Linked DNA regions of Homo sapiens: regions 2, 3, 4 and 5 are each linked to region 1. Evidence: promoter capture Hi-C in human tissues and cell types (Jung and others, 2019). All regions are on one chromosome and are shown on one strand. Each heading gives the region's core, a stretch centred on a gene start or on the middle of the fragment in contact. The rest is flanking DNA. Distances are from core to core; before and after follow the strand shown.

What was found. Contacts are between HindIII fragments. The study calls those that stand out against the background at their distance.
Region 2: a fragment that was not itself captured here is called in contact with the fragment with the promoter of COL6A2 in region 1 in 2 of the 25 tissues and cell types used here (mesenchymal stem cells and mesendoderm cells).
Region 3: a fragment that was not itself captured here is called in contact with the fragment with the promoter of COL6A2 in region 1 in 2 of the 25 tissues and cell types used here (liver and lymphoblastoid cells).
Region 4: a fragment that was not itself captured here is called in contact with the fragment with the promoter of COL6A2 in region 1 in 3 of the 25 tissues and cell types used here (mesenchymal stem cells, spleen and thymus).
Region 5: a fragment that was not itself captured here is called in contact with the fragment with the promoter of COL6A2 in region 1 in 2 of the 25 tissues and cell types used here (heart left ventricle and mesenchymal stem cells).

What each region holds. Positions count from the first base shown.
Region 1 is chr21:46,096,698-46,099,397 of GRCh38, reverse strand. COL6A2 (collagen type VI alpha 2 chain) reads right to left here and starts at 1,286. Exons shown (of 28, transcript NM_001849.4): 1 at 1,225-1,286. It overlaps COL6A2-DT (COL6A2 divergent transcript), which reads left to right and starts at 1,753. Exons shown (of 2, transcript NR_186433.1): 1 at 1,753-1,926. RefSeq lists an enhancer at 1,169-1,463. The HindIII fragment of the contact is 26,496 bases long and covers 1-2,700 here.
Region 2 is chr21:45,948,340-45,951,039 of GRCh38, reverse strand. No RefSeq gene overlaps it. Among named protein-coding and RNA genes, the nearest start is that of COL6A1, 32 kb to the left of the region's middle. The HindIII fragment of the contact is 4,709 bases long and covers 1-2,700 here.
Region 3 is chr21:45,842,772-45,845,471 of GRCh38, reverse strand. All of the region lies in intron 4 of PCBP3 (poly(rC) binding protein 3), which reads right to left. Among named protein-coding and RNA genes, the nearest start is that of PCBP3-AS1, 7.7 kb to the right of the region's middle. The HindIII fragment of the contact is 8,875 bases long and covers 1-2,700 here.
Region 4 is chr21:45,881,659-45,884,358 of GRCh38, reverse strand. All of the region lies in intron 5 of PCBP3 (poly(rC) binding protein 3), which reads right to left. Among named protein-coding and RNA genes, the nearest start is that of PCBP3-AS1, 47 kb to the right of the region's middle. The HindIII fragment of the contact is 4,995 bases long and covers 1-2,700 here.
Region 5 is chr21:46,235,634-46,238,333 of GRCh38, reverse strand. MCM3AP (minichromosome maintenance complex component 3 associated protein) reads left to right here. Exons shown (of 28, transcript NM_003906.5): 27 at 1,355-1,505. All of the region lies in intron 2 of MCM3AP-AS1 (MCM3AP antisense RNA 1), which reads right to left. Among named protein-coding and RNA genes, the nearest start is that of MCM3AP-AS1, 7.8 kb to the right of the region's middle. The HindIII fragment of the contact is 5,213 bases long and covers 1-2,700 here.

The DNA.
Region 1 (2,700 bases), core at 37-2,536:
CAGCCTCCGCCTCCCAGGTTCAAGTGATTTTCTCCTGCCTCAGCCTCCCGATTAGCTGGGATTACAGGTGCCTGCCACCACGCCCGGCTAATTTTTTTTTGTATTTTTAGTAGAGACGGGGTTTCACCCTGTTGGCCAGGCTGGTCTCGAACTCCTGACCTCAGGTGATCTGCCCGCCTCGGCCTCCCCAAGTGTTGGGATTACAGGCGTGAGCCACCGTGCCCGGTCTGGCCTTTCTTGAAATAATCACCAGAGTCGAAGTGCAAGGGGGCCTCCAAGCCAGAGCTGTGTTATCCCAAGAACAAGGAGCTCCGCGGATCGCAGGCCCCTCCTTTCTGGGTTCCGACCCCAAAGGGAAGGTCCCTTCTCCAGGGGCGTCCTAGGCGCGGGCACCGGGGTTCTGCTGGCACAGCCCGGATGGGCGCCGCTCGCCCGCACACCTGCGGCTCCACAGAGGGCCGATCCGTTCGGTTGCCAGCAGTGGAGACCCAGGCCCAGCGGTTCCACCAGCGCCCCGGCGGAGTCCCAGGGCGGGTGTGGGCGGCCCGGCAGGGGCTGCGGGTCGCTGTCAGCCCGGGTCCCGCCGCCCTGGGGAGCCGCCTCCGTCTGCAGCTTCTCCTGGGCCTGGCGGGGCCCTGGTGGGCTCCAGGCCGGGAGGGGCGCAGCGATGGGGCGTCGGGGCCACCCGCGTCCCCTCCCCGCCCAGTCCCGCCCTCGGGCACCGAAAGCCCCTCCTCCCCCCGCCCCGCCGCCCCTTCCGTCCGGCCCGGGGAGAGGCCCTGCGCCCCCGGAGGTCCCAGCCAGCCGGGGCGTCTTCCCCGCGGGCCGGAGCCGGACCCGAACCGCTCGCAGACGCGGGGCCTGGCGGGGCGTGCGGTGCCGGGGTCGTCTCGGGAGCGGGGGTCCCAGCACCGAGCTCGGGCGCAGACAGGGACCCCCCCACCCCGCCCAGGCCGGCTCCGCCCCAGAGGAGGCCGCGGGGAGGTGGCCCCAAGTCGCGCGCCCGAGGGTCGGACCCAGAGACGCGGAGCCACAGGGGCAGGCGCGGCCCCAGCCCCGCGAGGAGGAGCCCCGAACCCGCCGAGCCCCCCGCCGTCCCTGGGGCTGGAGTCCCCCTTCCCGGGGACCCGAGGGACGGAGCCGCCGCCGCCGCCTTCCCAGGACTCGGGGTCACCCCCCGCGGGCCGAGCGGCTTCCAGGGTGCGGGGTCCGGGAGGCGCTCACCTGGTCCCGAGGAGGCTCCGCTCCCGACGGCCCGAGGCGCGGGCGCCGAGTAAGCAGCAGGGAGGGAACCGCGGCCGGCGCCGCCCCCTTTATACCCCGCCCCGCCGGCCTGACCCGCCCCGCCGCCAGGAAGCGCTGCGGCCCCGCGGATGGGAGGAGGGGGCCGGGGGCACGGGAGGGGGATGGGAGGGAAGCGGGGACCCTCGAGGGCGGGAGGCTGGAGGAGGTGGAGAGGGTGGGGACCCCCCTGCAGCCCGGGCCGAGCTCCCCCGCCAGCCCCTGCCCGCTGCTGCTCGGACTTCGCGTCCCGGGCCCGGCCGCCCGTCGCCCCCGCCCCATTTCCCGGACGACCTGGCTGGGGCTGTGTCCGCCTCCGGGGCCCTGGGTGTTGGGGACCGCGCCCCGCACGCAGGGCCGACGGGGGCCCTGGGACTCGCCCCTTGGTAGCAGCTGCCCTGGGGGGTGCAGGGTTCCCCCCATCAGCCCCCCGACCCCTCCCCTACCCCGTGTCCTGTGTCCGGCTTGCTCAGGCCTCCCGCGAGAGGCCCCGGGTCAGGAGCTCCTGCAGAAACTGCCGCTCCTGGGGCCTGAGGGTGGGGAGCCGGGAGGGCAGGGACAGCAGAGCCTGGGCGCGGAGGTTGGGGCAGAGCCTGGGCATGCGGCGAGCCACCCCTGCCACCCCTTTCCCGCTGGAAACCACAGGTGGGCTTGGTGCTGGGCCCTGGGACCACCGTGAGGTCCCCACCTGAGCCCAGCCGGGGACAGAGTGACAGGGGTCCCTGGTAGGGCTCTGTCTGGGGTCCCCACTCCCCACCCTGGTCACAGTCCCCCAGCCAGGGCCGGGGTTCCTCCTTGAGGTGAGGCGCAGCCGGGTTGGGGAGAGGTCCCTGGGCTCCGGGACAGGGCTCCCTTCAGAGCTGTCCTGGAAGGTGGCGGAGCGGCTGGGGGCGAGGTCCCTCTTCTGATGAGCAGGTTTGCAAATGTGGTGTGTGTGTGTGTCTGAGACTGAGTGTGTGTGGTGTGTGCATCTGAGTGTGTGGTGTGTGTCTGTGTCTGAGACTGAGTTTGAGTCTGTGGTGTGTGTATCTGTGTGTGGTGTGTGTCTGTGTCTGAGACTGTGTGCATCTGTGAGTGTGTGGTGTGTGTCTGCGTCTGAGGTTGAGTGTGAATGTGTGTGTCTAAGTGTGCCTGAGTGTGAGTGTATGTGCCTAAGTGTGCCTGAGTGTGGCAGCCACATGGTAGCCATGAGTCCAGGGCTCCTGCCTGCTGCTCCTGAGCACAGCTGACGGCGGGCACCGTGTGCCACTCCCCTGGGTCCATGCCGAACTCTCACCTGGGCAATGCCTCCTGCTTCCAAGCCAGCAGCTCCCAGGGGGAAGCCAGGCCCCTCCTCACAAGACCAGAATCCTTTAGGGGTTACCTTGGCTCCAGAAGTTCTCCCTCGGCCTGGCCAGCACTGTCTAGGGGCACGTGCTG
Region 2 (2,700 bases), core at 20-2,519, 150 kb after region 1:
AGGAGGGGCAGGCATGGTGGGAAGTGGAGAGCTAACTCCTCATCTGTCCTGGCAGGAAACAGCAGGAGAGGTGGGATCAGACCCAACAACAGCTGCGAGCTTTTCTGTACTGAGGCGTCTCCTCCCCCAGCCGCCCTCCCTTGAGGAGGAGCCACAGCACCCTGGAGGAGGCAGAGCCGGAGGCGGCCGCTGCGGGAGGCTGCCACGGGGCAGTGCCAACAGGGCTGGAGGGAGGGAGGCGGGCAGGAGGGGTGTGTGTACGAGGCCAGGCCTGGGGCAGTCTCCGCCCCGAGGACAGGTTTCACTCAGGAGGTAATGGTAATTGTGCTTTGTAAAAGGCCACTCTGGAGAAGGAGGGTGGCTGTGTTGTGGTGGAGAAGGTGGGTGCATGGCTGCTCTGGACACAGCATGGGACCCTCGAAAGGGCTCGAACCCTCCTGGGGGTTGGAACAGGGCCAGGGGCTTTTGGACAAGCCCTGCCTGTTGTCCTGGGCAAGGTCCCCAACCCAGTGCCCTGGTGCACCCTTCACTTGCTGGTGCCCCCAAGGCCACCCCGCCCCGGAGTCACAGGTCACAGTTTCCGCAGGACACGCAGGGGTGAGGTGGCACCTGACGGCCTCAGGGACCCACAGGAGGCATCTCATAAAGGCACGTAGTCCAGGTCTTCCTCGTAATCCTTAGACGTGAAAGCTCGGGGGGAATCCGGCACTCCGGGCACTCGCTGCCATTCCCAGGTGGGTGCGTCACCGCCGCCCACTCACAGCATGGTAGATGCTGGCGGTGGTTGCACCCCGGCCCGTCAGGCCCAGGCTGGGAGCATGGCCCTGTGCCCACCTGTGGGTCAGTGCCCGTGCAGAGGCACCTGGAAGTGTCCTTGCCAAAAAGAGAACGGAATCGACAAAGCTTCTGTGACCACCTCCCACCTGTGGGAATTCCGGGGGCCAAGGAGTGAGGTCGGCGTCATGCCAGGAGGCGCGGGGGTGGACGCCTGGGCTCCTCAACAAGCATCATGTGACGACACAGGGCACCGGGAGGGGCTGGTGCATGACGGTCGGAGGGGCAGACGGGTCTGCTCAGGGGTGGTGCTGCCTTCGGGAATCCTCACAGCCAGGCGCTGCTTTTTCTTTTTTTTTGAGACAGGGTCTCTGTCGCCCGGGCTGGAGTGCAGTGGCGCGATCTTGGCTCACTGCAGCCTCAACCTCCTGGGCTCAAGCGATCCTCCCACCTCCTCAGCCTCGAGAGCAGCTGGGACTACTGGCATGCGCCACCACGCCCAGCTAATTTTTGTATTTTTAGTAGAGACGGGGTTTTGCCACGTCGGCCAGGCTGGTCTCCAATTCCTGGGCTCAAGGGATCCGCCCACCTTGGCCTCCCAAAGTGCTGGGATGACAGGCATGAGCCACCGCGCCCGGCCCAGATGCTTCTGCTGGAACATTTGCTTTTCTCAAAATGTCCTAGAGTGTGTTTTTTATTACTGTGTAGCTCTGCACTTAATAGAGGTATATCCAACTTCTCCAAATTAGAAGACAATCCCCATGGGAGGTAAAGAGAAGTTATTCTCTGGGTGACGCTGAACGAAGCCGACAAAGCAGCCGGCACTTGGCATGAAGTGGGCGAAGTGCACACGCCCACGTGGGGTGTGTTTCAGGTCTCGCCACAGCCACACGTCCTTTCATCAACCAACAAACCTCTTCTTAATCCTTTTAGCATGACGTTTTTTACTCCTGTCAAAGTAGTTTTTATATATTTTTATAGCGTTGTGCGTTCGAGGATTGAAAGTGGAAATTGTTATTTGACGTATTTCATGGTGCAGGAAAACTCATCATGAACCTTTACCTCAGAGAAACATGAGATCATCCCAGGTAAGCCACGGAGCTTGTCCTGGGCTCCTGACAAGCATCAGCCCAACGGCCAACACCAAGTGCGGCTCCCAGCACGTCCAGGCCGTGCCTGCGGCGACCGGCTCCTCCCTCCCTGTCCTCCGGAGGCGGTGAGTCTCCACGCTGCCTCGTCTCCTCATCCTAGAGTCCAGGTGCTCTTCCAAAGCAGGATGGACGGGGGCCCGGGCAGGGCTGAGAACTGTGCTTCCCGACCTCCCGGTGGAGTCTGCCTTTCCCCAGGTCTCCCGCTGTGCTCTTCTGTGGTTCCGGGGTTGACTGAGGACATGAGATCATCAACATCCACGGGAAGCTGGTGGCGACCTCAGGGAGCTGCTCTCTGTCGAGCTGTTGACGTGCTGGGCTTTTTCCCAACTACCCTTGGTCTTATCAGTAGAAACACCTAAAAATGCAGCCCCGCCCCCGTCAACCTGAAATCCACCCATGCAACTCCGGGTAAGAGGAGCCCCTCCCCCAGGCCTCCTTCCTCCACCTTCCCCGAGTCCGTCAACACACCGCACAGCCTGCATCACTGGCCTTAGCCACGTGGAGGCAAATATTGGTCCCCGGAGAGGGCCTCCCTCCCTCCCTCAGATCCTCAGAGTTGGAGGTGAACTCCCATGGCTGAGCTGCAGGGTGCCTTGGATTTCCATGAGTCCAAACCCTGAGCAATTCTGAGGCCGGCCAGTCCCGCGACGTTATCCTCTGTTTTATAAAACTGCCGGCACTGGTGCTAAGTGATGTCCACCAGGAACAAGAGGTGACCACTGACTGGATGTCGCCACAGTTCCTGAGAACAGTTTATTCGTCTACTAAGTATTAG
Region 3 (2,700 bases), core at 46-2,545, 250 kb after region 1:
CACAGGTGAAGGCACACACTCACACGTGTGGACACAGGTGCTTAAGCAGCTCACATGCATACACATGGCAAAGGCACACACTTACACACATGTGCACACGGGTGCTTAAGCAGCTCACAGCATTAGCCAGGCTCTTAAGAAATGGTTTCAGCTTCACCAGAAGGTTTCAAACCTCAGACAATCACAAGGCAGCATGCTGTCTCTCTGTAACATTCTCCTCATGCCTCTCAGCATCAGGGAAACCGCTTCAGACAGGAAACCATGACTTGGTAAGAGATCATCTGGTGGCAGGTGCCCCTTGCTAACCAAGGCTGGTTAAGATGAACAAAAGGCATAAGAGAGCAGAACTGTCAGTGACCCCTCCGGAGGTGGACTCCTTGAGAATCCAGGTATGGTCCTTTTAGGGAGAACAGTTTAGAAGATATTCAAGCTGATACCTTAAATCTCTGGGGTACCCAGTAAAAAAGTCTAAGAATTCATAAAAGGAAGCTTCTGATGAATGCAAAATTTTGTTCAACCTTAAATAAAGCATATATATATGTAAACTATATATATAAATAAAGCATATATATAAACTTTATATACGTATATAAACTTCATATACGTATATAAAGTTATAACTTTATATACGTATATGAAGTTTATATATAACTTTATATATATGTATATAAACTCAGACCCAGTCTTCTTCTTATGAATCTGCCTGGAGAGGAAGAAAGAAGAACCATGGTTTCATATGTACCAGAGTTTGGACCCTAACGTTGCCACTTTTGTGGGCTAACACCCAGAACTATCTCCATTCTGTCACATCTAAGATGAGGAAGCCACGCTGCCCTTGTGGTGCGCGTGGAACCATGCCGCGGGGAGCACCATTGGCAGGGAGCACCAACACACAGTGCTCACAGAGGAGCGGGGAGACCAGCCTGCCTACCATCTCCATTACTTCTGCCACACAAAATCCTCCAGCCACGCTGAATTCTACCCTGGCAGGTGTCCTGCGGCTGCAACAATGCTGGAGGGAGGGTGGAGAATGTGACCCCAGGGCTCCCTCACCTTGCGCTGGGTGACATCTGGACCATGTGAAGGGCTCTGGAGGGCAGGGCAGCACCACCCACCCCTGCCACCCAATCATAAGAGTCCTTAGGTGCTGGGGCACCTCCCACCCAACGTGTCTATGCTCCATGCAGCAGTGTGCAAGACCTCCCTAAAGTGGGGCTCTCACCAAGACGGCAAAGCATTTCCTAATGCAGTGGGTCAATCGTCCGGCTCAAAGGGCAGCCTTGGAGCTGGACAGACCAGCCCAATGAAAAACAAGCACGGCCTTGTCCGCAACCAGACTGCTGGAGCTGGGGCCTGCAATTTTGGGTAGAAACACTGAGAAGAAAGACTGAAAGAAGGTCAAGGAGAGAGACGAGCATTAATGGAGGAAGAATGCTACAAGAAGGAGCAGTGAGGTCAGAGGTCACAGGCCCCAAATCGCCCAACTGGTGGGAGATGCCAACATACCTCTCTCCTTTACAGTTCACACAAGTATACCCCACAAAAGTAATAAAGATGCAGAATATATTAACAGCACAAACAACATGATAGTGCGTATGTGTGTCTGTGTGTATATAAAACCCTGTACCTGACAAGCAGAGGTAACACATTCTCCTAAGGCTCTCAGAGAACAAAACAAAAATTGATAACGTTTTAGTTCATATTGCAGGTTTCAACAAATGTTGAAAACATGGAGTCCACAGAACATATCTCCTACTCAGTAGGCAATTAAATATCATTAGCAAAAGATAACTTTACAATTCCCTTGGACAAAACACTTTTTAAATGTTTCCAGATAAGAAATAGATGAGATCAGAAAACAGACCTCAACAATAATAAAATTATTGCATGCCAAAATTTGTAGCAAACAGCTGCAACAGAACTCACAGTAAAGTTTATAGCTTTTAAAAGGAGTAAAGAAACACAAAATTAGTGAGTCACGAATCCCATTTAAAAAGTTAGAAAAAGAACAGAAAGTATCCACAGAAAGTGGAAAGGTAATAATAAAGAAAAGTTCAGAAGTTAAGCAAAGAAACAAAGGCAACTGAGAAGATCAGTAAATATAAAATTTGGTTCTTAAAGTCTAAATAATATACAACCCTCTGATGAGATTAATCAAGAAAAACAACTGCGAAGGCACAGGGGATAGTAGTCACGTAAAGGAAGCCATGCCTTCTGGTTCTGGACAGGATGGAATAGACACCTCTCTCCCTATTCTTCCTGCTGAGCACAGCCAACAACTCTGGACATTACATGTGGAACAAACAGAAGAGAACCCTGAAAGCTGGAGGGAAGAAGGGGGACTGGCTGGGCCCTTGGGATTTGGAGAATGACACAGCGGTGAGTTCGCTATTCTTTGGGTTTCTTATTTGTTTGTTCGTTTTGTTTGTGCTTCCTCCTCTATATTTCAGACAGGGCACTGGAAAAGCAACTGAAAAATGCCAAAGGATACACACTGGAAAAAAACAGTCTCAAGAAAATTCTCTCTAGGGAAAGGGATGGGAAAGGAGGAACCTATTAGGTCAGAAAGCATCTGAGAATACCTGCCCTGCTCCATGCACAGGACAGGACGCACACAGCACCCTGCCCGGTCAGAGGGGCTGAGCTGAGAGCCTCGGCTTCCACTCCCACCCAGCAGTACCAAGCACCCTTCTCCCCACC
Region 4 (2,700 bases), core at 197-2,696, 220 kb after region 1:
GATATATACTCTAAAATGCTACTGATAAAATAAAATTCCAAAAAAATGTACACTGACTCACAGGAAGAAAGAAAAAACTAAAACCAGAGAAACAAAAAACAAAGCCAACAAAATTAAAAATGAGGCTGGGTGCGATGGCTCACGCCTGTAATCCCAGCACTTTGGGCGGTCAAGGTGGGAGGATCACTTGAGCCCAGGAGTTCAAGGCCAGCCTGGGCAACACAGGAATACCTAGTCTCTACAAAATATAAAAATAAATTGGCTGGGCATGGTGGTGCATGCCTGTGGTCCCAGCTGCTTGAGAGGCTGGGGTGGGGGGATCACTTCAGCCCAGAAGAGGCTGCAGTGAGCCATGATCACACTACTGCACTCCAGCCTGGATGACAGAGTAGGGCCCTATCTCAAAATAAATAAATACAAAAGATAAATAAAAGGTGAAATGGCAGATTTAAGCCCTAACATCTCAATACCGTAATAACTTTAAGTATAAATGGTCCAAATACACCAATTGAAGCACAGATGGGCAGAGTGGATTTAAAAATATGACCCCATCATATGCTGTCTACAGAAAACTCACTTCAAATAGAACAATATAAGCAAACTGAAGATAAACTAATGGGAAAAGGCGTATCGTGCAACCATTAATCAAAAGAAAGCAGGAATGGCTATATTAATATCGGAAAAAATAGACGTCAGAGCAATGAAAATGATCAGAGACAGAGAAGGACATTACATAATGATAAAAGAGTCTAAATAAGCAATAGCAATCCTAAATGTGTATGAATCAAATAACAGAGCTGTAAAATATGTGAAGCAGAAACTAATAGTAGTGAAAAGAAAAATATAAAAATCCACAACGACAGCTGAAGACTTTATTACTGTCAACAACTGAAAGAACCACTGGGCAGAGAATTAGCAAAGGATTTGGAAGGACTCAACACCATCAACCAACGGGGCCTAACGAACACTTCCGGAACACTCTGTCCAGCATCAGCAGAATCCACACTCTCTTCCTGCATGTACAGAATCTATACCAGGATAGACCATACCCTTGGCCATAAAAGAAACCTCAGCAAATTTAACAGAATTGAAACCGTAGTGTATGTTCTCTGACCACAGCTGACTCAAACCAGAATCAATCATGGAAAGATAACAAGAAAAGTTCCAAGCACTTGGAAATGAAACACATATATGAACAATCCAAGGGTCAAAGAGGGAATCTCAAGGAACATCAAAAAACACATTGACCTGAATGAAAATAAAAACACAGCATATCAAAAATCGCAGGACACAACTACAGCAGTGCTGAGAGGGAAACCTGTGGCACGAAACACACACATTTGAAGAGAGAAAAGCTTCCAATCAATAATCTAAGCACTCATTTTAAGAATCTAATAAAAGAAGAACAAAATAAATCCAAGTAAGCAGAGGAATGAAATACTAAAGACCAGAACTTGGCGCTGGTGTAAGAACGACATGCAGGCCGGTGGAGGAGAGCGGAGAGCCTGGCAGGAAACCCCGCAGCTGCAGCCAATCCATCTACAATAAAGACACCAGGAACACACACGGGGAAGGACAGTTTCTTCAATAAACGGTGTTGGGGAAACTGGATGTCCCTGTGCAGAAGAATGAAATTAGACCCTCATCTCACACCATCTATAAAAATCAACTCAAAATGGGTTAAAGACTTAAATGTAAGATCTGCAACTGCAAAACCACTAAGAAAAAACACAGGGAAAAATTCCACGACACTGGTTTAGTTAATGATTTTTTTTTAAATATGGCCCTCAAAGTACAGGCAACAAAAGCAGAAAGTAGAGAAATGGGATTATATCAAACTGAAAAGCTTCTGCACAGCAAACAACAGAGTGAAGAGACAACCTAGGGAACTGGAAAAAAAACTGCAAACCATACAACATCTGATAAGGAGTTAATACTCAAAATGTGTAAGGAACTCAAACAACTCAATAGCAAGAAAACAAATACCAGATTTTAAAAAAATGGCAAAGAAACGGAATGGAAGCTTCTCAGAAGGAGACATACAAATGGCTAACAGGTATATGAAAAAGTGCACAACATCACTAATCACCAGAAAAATGCAAATTCAAACCACAATGGGATATCGGCTCATACCTGTTAGAATGGCTATTATCAAAAAGACAAAAGCTAAGTGTTGGTGAGGAGGTGGACAAAAGGGAACCCTTGTACAGTGCTGATGGGAAACTTAGTACAGTCATTATGGAGAACGGTACGGAAGTTCCTCAAAAAACTAGAAATAGAACCACCACAGGATCCAGCAGTCTCACTTCAGGGCATATACCCAAAGTCACTATAGTGAGGAGACACATGCAGGCCCGTGTTGATTGTGGCACAACTCACAACAGCCTAGATATGGTGGAATCAGCCTAAGTGTTCATAGAGAGACGAACGGATAAAGAAAATGTCACACACAGACATACACACAGAAAGAAGCCATGTCATCTGTGTCACTGCGGATGAACCTGGAGGACATTATAACAAGTAAAATGAACTGGGCACAGAAAGACAAATACTGCATGATCTCACATGTGGAATCTAAAAAAGTGCATCTCACAGAAGCAGAGGGTGGGAGGTGGCTGTCGGGGACTGCGGGGGGTTGGGGGAAATGGGAGCTGTTGGTCACTGGCACAAGTTCAGTTAGACGGGAGTCAAACAGGCTGG
Region 5 (2,700 bases), core at 201-2,700, 140 kb before region 1:
AGCTATAAGCAGCAATCCACTCATTTGGAAAATGTCAGAAGAATTAATTATAGATGCATAAAACCAAAGTAAATTAAATAAGATAAGCCAAACAAGACAATTACAAGTAATGTTAAGTAACACATCGAAGCAGTTGTTTTTGGATTAATACCACCTTTTTCATTAAATATAAATTGGAATTGGATTTATAAATTAAAGGGAAGTGGTTTCTCTAATTTTTTTTTTTTTTTTTTTGAGATGGAGTTTTGCTCTTGTTGCCCTGGCTGGAGTGCAATGGCGTGATCTGGCTCACTGCAACCTCCGCCTCCCGGGTTCAGGCAGTTCTCCTGCCTCAGCCTCCCAAGTAGCTGGGATTACAGGCACGTGTCACCATGCCTGGCTAATTTTTGTATTTTTAGTAGAGACGGGGTTTCACCATGTTGATCAGGCTGATCTTGAACTCCTGACCTCAGGTGATCTGCCCGCCTCGGCCTCCCAAAGTGTTGGGATTACAGGCATGAGCCACCGAGCCCAGCCTAGTTTTTTTTTTTAAATTAAGCTTTATCATAGGAAGTTGTTAAATTTTTAATAAGTACATTTCTGCTTCTCAGTTGATGTCATAACTTAGTTATATTCTTAGTAAAAAGCAAAGGCTTAAGGCTGGGTGTGGTGACTCATGCCTATAATCCCAGCACTTTGGGAGGCTGAGGTGTGCACATCACTTGAGTTCAGGAGTTGTAGACTAGCCTGACAATACAGCAAAATCCCGTTTCTACAAAAAAATACAAAAATTAGCTGGGTGGCATGCGCCTCTAGTCCCAGGTATTTGGGAGGCTGAGGTGAGATCATTTGAGCTTGGGAGGTCAAGGTTGCAGTGAGCCAAGATTGTAACACTGCACTCCGGCCTGGCCAACAGAGCGAGACCTTGTCAAAAAAAAATAATAATAAAATTGGCCAAGCACAGTGGCTCACTCCTGTAATCCCAGCACTTTGGGAGGCCGAGGTGGGTGGATCACCTGAGGTCAGGAGTTCAAGACCAGCTTGGGCAATATGGTGAAACCCCATCTCTACTAAAAGTACAAAAAATTAGCTGGGCACAGTGGCACTTGCCTATAATCCCAGCTACTCAGGAGGCTGACGCAGGAGAATCACTTGAACCTGGGAGGCAGAGGTTGCACTGACCCGAGATTATGCCACTGCACTCCAGCCTGGGCAACAGAGTGAGACTCTGTCTCAAAAAAAAAAAAAAAAAAATTATATAAAATTTTAAAAAAGCAAAGGCTTAAAAAGTTTTTAAGTATATATAGAAGATTAATGAACAATAGTTAACTTCCTAATGCTCAAATATTTTTGAATTTATTACATATTGTTTCAGGTTTGAAGATCAGCTTCAGCAATGGTTGTCTGAAGACTCAGGAGCATTTACGGATTTAACTTCCCTTCCCCTCTATCTTCCTCAGACTCTAGTGTCTCTTTCTCACACTATTGAACCTGTGATGAAAACATCTGTAACTACTAGCCCACAGGTGAGAAGAACGTATACATTTGGCATTTACATAAGAATTAAAGATTGAGAGAATGGCTGGGGAAAAAAGTAATATCACGATTTATCCTATGATGTTTTGATGACCGACAAATTATTAGCTCAAATTAGACCTTTTCTTAAACTTTATCCATATCATTGTTAAAGAGACCCAACTGATTTTGAGTTTCTGCCTACGAAATAAATGAAGAATAGAATTGAAATATTCTTAAGAACTGAATAAGACCTGTAACTGTGTGCTGATGTGTAATTAAGGGCATTAAGGTGATGACAGCAGCTTCTGTTGGAGCACATATTGTCTGAGCTTTGGCATTACCCAGACCTCTCTTCTGGGATTAATTTTTCCTGAGGAAAACTAATGAATGAGGAAGGTAAGCTCCCAGAAGTCAAGAGCCTCACCCAAGAGTGTTCAAGTAGTGAGTGGTCAGGTTGCTTTTCAAAGCCAGATCCAACTGGCTCCAAAGCCTAAGGTCTTTTTACCTTACCATTCTTCCTTCAGTGGTTAAAGATGCAAAAACAGAGTTTCAATCACAGATATGTGCCACTGAACAGGTAAAAACTGTGCTCCTGGACTGGCTTTAGGAAGTCCTTCAATAGAGGAGAAAAGCAAATTAAAATGATGTACTGTTTCCATTCATCAGTTTGGCAAATACTTTAAAAATATTCATACCCTTTGAATTACCAATTCTAACCTAAAGAATTCTGACCTACCAGATATTCCCCAAAAATTAATGTATAAAAATGTTTACTGTAGCATTATTGTATGAAAGTCGAAACAGAATAAATATCCGAAGATGGGAGTCTGATTAAACAATTATAACACATTCATGTGATAGAATAATTCACAGCCCTTGACGATGATATTTTCTAAAAATGACTGGCTGGGCGTGGTGGCTCATGCCTGTAATCCCAGCACTTTGGGAGGCTGATGAGGGAGGATCGCTTAAGTCCAGGAGCTTGAGTCCAGCCTGGGCAACATAAAGAGATCTCATCTCTACAGTACATAATTAGCCAGGCATGGTGCTACATGCCTGTTGTCCCAGCTACTCAGGAGGCTGAGCTGGTAGGATCACTTGAGCCCAGGAGTTTGAGGCTGCAGTAAGCTCCGATCATACCACTGCGTTCCAGCCTGGGTGAAAAATGACTGACACTGGAAATTGTTCATGATAGAATACAAA